Linked DNA regions of Homo sapiens: region 1 is linked to region 2. The links are contacts of gene promoters, found by promoter capture Hi-C in blood cells and fetal thymus (Javierre and others, 2016). All regions are on one chromosome and are shown on one strand. The core of a region is centred on a gene start or on the middle of the fragment in contact, and the rest is flanking DNA. Distances in the headings are between cores, read along the strand shown.

The links. Contacts are between HindIII fragments. The CHiCAGO score rates a contact against its expected background, and 5 or more counts as called.
Region 1: a fragment that was not itself captured here is called in contact with the fragment with the promoter of SLC9B1 in region 2 in 3 of 17 cell types (naive CD4 T cells, naive CD8 T cells and total CD8 T cells); the score reaches 6.5 in naive CD4 T cells.

The regions. Positions count from the first base shown.
Region 1 is chr4:101,170,768-101,174,752 of GRCh38, reverse strand. The region is part of intron 2 of PPP3CA (protein phosphatase 3 catalytic subunit alpha); the gene reads left to right. Among named protein-coding and RNA genes, the nearest start is that of MIR8066, 68 kb to the left of the region's middle. The HindIII fragment of the contact is 3,729 bases long and covers 225-3,953 here.
Region 2 is chr4:103,017,774-103,021,495 of GRCh38, reverse strand. SLC9B1 (solute carrier family 9 member B1) reads left to right here and starts at 1,791. Exons shown (of 12, transcript NM_139173.4): 1 at 1,791-1,897. It also overlaps a transcript of SLC9B2 not described here. RefSeq lists an enhancer at 1,450-1,950. The HindIII fragment of the contact is 6,332 bases long and covers 1,156-3,722 here.

The DNA of each region.
Region 1 (3,985 bases), core at 840-3,339, 1.8 Mb after region 2:
TTCCCTATCTCACTATTCTTGGCCAACTGAGCATCTCACCTTCCCCAGACTTACACTTCATGTCCTTAGACTTTATATTCTTTTAGATTAAGAAGGATACCTCCATTGTCACCCACAGGCTCCCCTTAAATACTTTACAATATGTATAATTTTGTGTTTAGGTTTGCACACATATTCTTTATATTGTTGTCATCCTAAAAGTTATTCTCATAATACTTAAAGCTTTCATACATTGTTAGGAAGAAATGTTGTACTTAATTCAAGAAGATGTTTTAGAAAATATTTAAGCCAGATTATAAGAATACATAAATACAAAACGATGTATTATTTCTTTTAAAAATAAGTGTACCTAAAGTCATTGCACTTTAGTGAAGAATTCCCTAACCCCAATTAATTTTGTGATATCTTAATGAAAAAATTAACAAATGGTGTGGTTGTTTCACTTCCTTGAAAATACATCGTTTAGGTTCATGTTTCAAAAGAGCCAATTTTAAGCAATACTGAAGGAGACAATCTTATTGATAAAAACATAAATATTTAATAGAGCCATAGTATATTAAAAGATTTTGAAAATATAAAGTTGATTGATTTCAGTAACTTCCAAACTATTTGTTAACAACGTGGTTTTTTTTGTTAGTTTGTTTTTCTGGCGGGGTGGGGGGGGCGTAGTTTTTGTGTTTGTTTGTTTGTTTATTTGTTTTAAGAAAGGGTCTCATTCTGTTGCCCGGGCTGGAGTTCAGTGGTGTAGTCATAGCTCACAGCAGCCTCGAATGCCTGGGCTCAAGTGATCCTAATGCCTCAGCCTCCCAGGTAGCTGGGACTACAGGCACCCACCACCATTCCCAGCTAATTTTTAAATTTTTTTGTTGAGACAAGGTCTTGCTCTGCTGCCTAGACTGGTTTCAAAGTCGTGGCCTCAAGTGATCCTCCTACCTTGGCCTACCAAAATGTGAAGATTACAAGCATGATCCACCATGCTCTTTTTTTTCTTAATGAAATATTTAAATGCAAAATTCCAAATATAAAACAGAGAGGTTATTATTATATTAATTTAGCTAAATCAGGAATTTTTTTGATTGAAAAATTAAAATTATTTGGATGGAAGACATCTTTGCTAAACTGTTATTTAAAACTTATGTATGCTTGCAGAGGGACCTCATCTCTGTGTCCATTTTCATGTCTCTAGCTATATAAATCCTGACATCACTGTCTTTCTAGTGGATAAGAATAAGTGTGTAGTGTAAATATGATACTGTTACATTTTAGCAATTAATAAAAATGTCAATTGCTAGGGCTGGATATAATTGCAGAAACGACCTAGTGTTTCACTTTGCTGTTTGAAAAAAAAAGCCCTCTAAAGTTTGGATCTTTTTTTTTCCTTAGCACTCAAATTGTGAACCACTAGGTTTGCAAACTTTTGTACATCCAAGCACAGCCTCTCTCTTACCACAGGCCAAATAAACACCCTGCCTACCACACATCCATCTATTCCTCATTGAAATGTACCTGAGCTTATAGGACATTTCACTTACACCCCTCACCCCCTCATCCCCCAATAAAGGCAAAAGCCCTGTTCCATTAATCCCTAAAAGCCACTGTCAGTGCCCAGAATCTGTCTTTAGAATCTGGGCTGTGTTATTATTACACTGGCCCAATGGCTCTACTTTTACACTAAGAGGAAGAAGTTGTAGAGAGGAGTCTGAGGAGGGAAGTTGGCTTGTGGAGCTCCGTGTACATGTGGGTTATCATAAATCTGGGAATGCTGGATTTAAATGTCCAGTTAATTGTTCTTCAGTGCAAACAAATCTAATGTGTGCCTTGTAGTTAATTGATTTTATTAGTCTGAATTGTGAAAATAAAGTAGCATTGCAAGTTTTGAAGCCTTTTTTTACAGGATCATTAAAAAATATATTTAAGTGAGGACGTGGGTTTTAGAAAGAATGAGAACTTAGAGAGTTATGTTTAATATGTCTTGTGGGAATAAGAAAGCAAATGAATTCCCATTGTAAGTTAGAATTTGTCCTGATTTAAAAACTAGATTCAGCTTCCCTCTGCATTAGAAAACTAGGTGATTTCATGGAAATAGGGCTAAACCTCCTAAGACTCATTAGAGAAGGGACCACATGTGCTTAGAAAGGAGTCTGAAATGAGGAAGGGGGACAAAGACTCGTTTTAAGATTTTAAAAGAAAGGAAAGTGAGGAAAACATTTTGGGGACATTTAGTCACAAGGGAACTGTGACTAACTCTGTTAGTCACAGTGCTGAATACTTTTTTACATGTTTTCATAATTAAGGTCCTAAATAACCTCACAATTTGGTAATTAATGTAGCACCAACTATATTCTAGGTATTCTTGTAAGTTTTTGGAATATATCAGTGAATTAGAAGCAAGATGGGTACATAATTCTCTCTGTAGATGAAATAGCTGAAGCCAGTAATGTTAAGAGCTTGTCTAAGGCCGCAGATAGAAGTGTCAGAAATGGGATTTGGACCAATCTCTCTGGTTCTATGCTCAGGTTGTGGGAATATAGCATGAATTTCTAGACATACTCATGTTGAGGATTTTTTCCCTTACAATAGGATAATAATACCTCCACTGCCTGTCATGGGCTTATTGAGAGAGTCAAGCGGTACTCTGGATATGATGGCATTTTGTTTCTTCCTTTCTCCCACTGCTCTCCATCAGTACTTTGATAGAGCACTAATGCTCTGGATTAAGTCATTTACAAGTATGACTCGTTTAATAAGAAATACACAGCTGTAGTCTACAGACTATCATTCATTCATTGAATCAGTCAGTCTACAAATATTTATTGAATGCTGTCATGCATTAGGCATTGTGCTATATATGGCAGTGACATAGTAAATGAGAGACATGCTCATTTTCTCATAATCCTTATATCCTAGCAGAAATCGGTATTAAACAGATTACACAATTGCATATATTTGTGGTAAGTATTACAGAGGAAAACTAGAGACATATTTATGTCTCTTATACCTATGCCTGTTTTTTACCAAGTAAATTAATTAGTAAATTAATGAATGGTGAGAATAAATTCTTCTACAAAGTCATGACTGAGCATGGGCACTCTAGAGTTATGCCAGGGTTCATAATCCAGCCTTATGCCTACTGGGCTTTGGGACTTTACATGAGTTACTTAACCTTTCCATGTTCCAGTTTCCTGCAGAATGGGGATAATAATAGTTTTAGAAGGGCTGAAAGAAGGAACATTGGGAAACAGTTTAGAACAGTGCAAGATATACAGTGAGTGCACAATAAGATTTAGCTATTATTATTTTTATTACTATTGTCATGTAGCGGAACTTCACAGGCAAGTTCTCTTTTAACCATAGTATTTACCTAAGCTGTCAACCTTCTTTGAAGGGTTTTTTTTTTTTTTTGAAAGAATTGTTCATAAACGAGTATGCATCAGAACCAACTATGGAGCTTTAAAGAATATACATGTTTAGCTCCTATTGTGGGAGATTGTTATTCAGTAAGTCTGAATTGAGCTCTGCTTTTCAGAAGCTCCACAGATGACCCCGATTCACACACCAAGGTAAAAACGGATGGCTTTCAAATGACACAGAAAGGAGATTTCACACATGGCAGGGAAGGAATGTAAACTACTGACAACCACCCAAAGGACTTTTCTCTGTGTACCTTGGGTGAGTATTGATAGCTACTTGGAAAAATGTGATAGTAAGTAAAACAGTAAATATTTAAGTATTCCTGTAGATGCTAGTTAATTCCTTTTTAAATGGGATTGAATTTTAGTACTTTAAAAAATACCAAAATGATTATTTGCCCAAATAAGTTTGACTAGACTAGAATGCGAGCTCCTTGAAGGCAGGGATTTGTGTCAGTTTCACAGATATATTGGTAAATGTATCAGTAAATAAGAGTGCTCAATAAATAAGAGTTTAAATAAATTGAATGAATTTTGAAAGCTTAAGATATTTGGGGAACAGATAAGAATGATTA
Region 2 (3,722 bases), core at 542-3,041:
AATGTTTTTTATTAGTAAATTTTCATTATATTGTCTCCCAAAGAACCACTGTATTTTTTTAATGTCTCAGAACATTATATTTTTATATGAATCATTTATGTACCTCTCTGTAACAAGTGGGAATTGCTTCATGGCATTTGGGGAGTACGTAATATTATATTTATAGTTGACTGACTCAAATCCAGCCTGAGCCCTCTGGCCTGGTGAGAATTCCAAAACTCCATTTGTTGATGTGCGCTCCATCTTCCTTACATGGACCCTAAAGCACTTACCTCTCCAGGAGCCCATTCCTTCTAGAGCATAAGAGTAGTGCCTTGGAGGCAAACAGACTCCTAGCAAAGGTCTTCCTTCCCAGGTTTACCATTTGTCCCAACTCCCATTATCTTTAGGGATCTACCTGCTTTTCCTGTGAGTACAAAACATTTCCTTTTCATGAGTACAAAACATTTCCTTAACCCTATAATCATGAAACCCTGTCTACTCTCCTGAAACGAGGAAGAAAAATAAATCCTTGCTGAGATGTCTATAACACGTTGAAGGAGGGAAGGTGTTAAAAACAATAAAAAGGGCAGGGCTGTGGTGGCTCACGCTTGTAATCCCAGTACTGTGGGAAGCCAAGACGGGCAGATCACTTAAGTCCAGGAGTTCAAGTCCTCCTGGGCAATATGTGAAACTCCTCTCTACTAAAAATACAAAAATTAGCCGGGGGTAGTGGTGCCCACCTGTAGTCCCAGCTACTCAGGAGGCAGGAGGATCGCTTGAACCAAGGAGGAGGAGGCTGCAGGGAGCCTAGATCGCACTGCACTCCAGCCGGGGTAATAGAGTGAGACCCTGTCTCAACAACGTCAACAAAACCAATAAAAAGATAATTTCGTATTTAAGTTACCCAAGAAGGAACGGTAATTTGGATCAGATCTTAGATGATGACTAAGAAAAAGAACACTCCGGTAGAGGAATTAACTTTACAGAACGCACTGAGGCAAAAAGGAATACAGTGTTCAAGAGTAAACATTGAGTGTCAGGAGAAACATTAGATAGGAAAGGGCAGTTTGTCTTTCTAAGAAGTTTACACTTTCTCCAATAACAGTTGTTTTTGTCTTTTATAGGAAGCGCGGATTCTATTACTGGAAACTTTGGGACTGAAAGGCCAAAGCTTCTGGGCCCACCATCAACGCAGCTCCGCTTTCATTTCTTTCACATACAACTTTCCACATAAGATTTCATGCGGAAAAAAAAAAAAAACTCACAAAGGTTTTATACTGATAACAGTATATTAAGTGTTTACTTTGTACACAGCGTCTTTGTTCCAGACACTTGCCATGTCTCATTTATTCTCACACCACCACCACAGCGTCCTTTACAGATGAGAAGACAACCTCAGGGAGACGATGTATTTGCCTAGGTCCCATAGCTAGCAAGTGACAGCGCTGCAGTTTAAGCTCAGGCCGTCTTGGGGAGAGACCGTGCTCTTCTACCATTGCACTTTAAGCTGACTTTAGGGGAAACACAATCTGAGTTTTGACAAGTTTACTTCTGGCACATGCAGTCCCGAGCACTGCTTTTTGGCTAAAATGCCCAGTGATGTCAACTCTGTCCCTGGATTTCTACAACCCGATGAGTCAATATTCAGAAGAGACGTCGAAAGGAAAGGGTTCAATAGACAGAAAACACACCAGACAGTCCCAGAAACCCCAGAACCCTCGCCTCTGCCGGCGCGGACAGCCAAGACGTCACTTAAACGCGCTGCCGCCTCCTCGCCCCGCCCCGCCCCTGCGCGGAAGTCTATCCGGGCTTTCGCGTCACCACCCTGCCCACCTGGGTGGCGCGTGGCTTACGCAACGGTCACTGGGCTCCTGGGCCGCTCCCGGGCCAGCGAGGGCTGCGAAAGAAGTTGTAGGTACGGCCCATTTTTCTTAACGCCGCCCTTCCAAGCCCTTTGGCGCTAGTCCCGGGTCTGCCGCGATCGTTTCCTTGCGGTAGGCCGCAGGAGGGCCTTTCCTCCCCCTCAGTTCAATGGGATTCTTGGGCTCTTCTCCCAGACGCTGAGGGAACAGCCACAGACATTGTCTCTCCTCTCCGTGACTCCTTTCCTTACTCCGTCATCCCACATCTCTCTTGTTTGTTCTCTTTTCCTCCTGTTTTTCTTATTTTACAAATACTCGCCAGTAAGAAAGAAGAGATCTGTCAGTTAAGATTGACCTCAAAATTAATTTTATTAAGCGTGTACTATTTTACAAACGGTGGATCCCTGCAAATAAACCTTCACATACATGCTCCTGCGACTGGAGATTCTGGGATTGGTTGCCGATCCTGAGAAAGCTCTCTTCCCCCACCCACCCACATCCACGCCCCTTAATCCTGTTTACTCCTCTTGGCTTTAACCCAGGGGACAAGCACTTCCAGCAGTCCCCAACCTTTTTGGCACCAGGGATCAGTTTCATGGAAGACAGTTTGGGGTGGGGGGCAAGATGGGATGACACTCTTCTATCTCAGATCATCAGGCATTAGATTCTCTTGAGAAGGCGCAATTTAGATCCCTCACATGCGCAGTTCATAATCAGGTCTGTGCTCCTATGAGAATCTAATGCCTTTGCTCATCTGACAGGAGCTGGAGCTCAGGCATAATCCTCTAGCCCTGCTCACCTGCTGTGTGGCCTGTTCCTAATAGGCCACAAACCTGTACCTGTCTGCTGCCCAGGGGTTGGGGATCCCTGCTTTAGACCAGTGCTTTTGAAGGAAAAAGGAAAGTTGCACACATACTGTGTCTGTCACATCAATCAGTAGTGTTACAAGAGCTCTTCACGGGACCATACCAGGTCCCTCACTCCCCCTCTATGGGTGTCCTAGAGCCTGTGAAATAACAGATTTGGTGATGTGGGGAGACAACTGGCCCAGGTGGCACTGAGGGAGGCCACACCCCACTCTCTGATTTTCCTTAGAGATAAATATAATTATGTGTGCAACAGAAGCATGAAAAATGACACTTATTATTGTCACCCCTAGAGAATTCATGCCCCAAATATTTTAGTCACTGTGTGCCTATGAAAAGGGCATTCATAGGTATTGTCCCCTGTGAGTACCAGAATTTTTTTTAACTTACTTTTTAAAATTCTATACAGATTTAGTTAGTACAAGTTCAGTTTTGTTGTGTGGATATATTGCACAGTGGTGAAGTCTGGGCTTTTAGAGTACCAGAATTTATACTGCTGTTTTTCAGTTGGCTCTTGTCATAAGGTCCTGCCAATTACTAGACACAAGGAAATAGGTGGGTGCTATAGTTGTAACATATAAAGTATCGTTTTTATAGTACTTCTCATTTTGTACTTATTTTTGTACTCATCCTGTTTAAACACTTCTGTTGGTTAACCAAATCCCATGTTACTGTGGTGTTTACTAAACACTGAGATTGAATAGTACCTGGAACATAGTGTAATATATGTTCAATAAATATTTTTTGAGGGAATGAATGGATGAGCTTCTGAAGAAGCCATACCTTAGCCACTTTTGTTTTTCCTGGATCCAGAGCTTAGTCTAGCAGTAGTAAACTCACCAGTGTGAGTTAAGTAGAGAAGTCAAGTGACTTGCTTAGGGAAAGGCATTCATTAAGTATTTTTTAAAGAATATCCTACTTTGTCAGGCGTTGTTTTAGGCATTGTGAATACAATGGTAAGAAAGACTAGCAAGATCGCTGTTCTTATGAAGTTTAAATTCTAGTGAGTGTA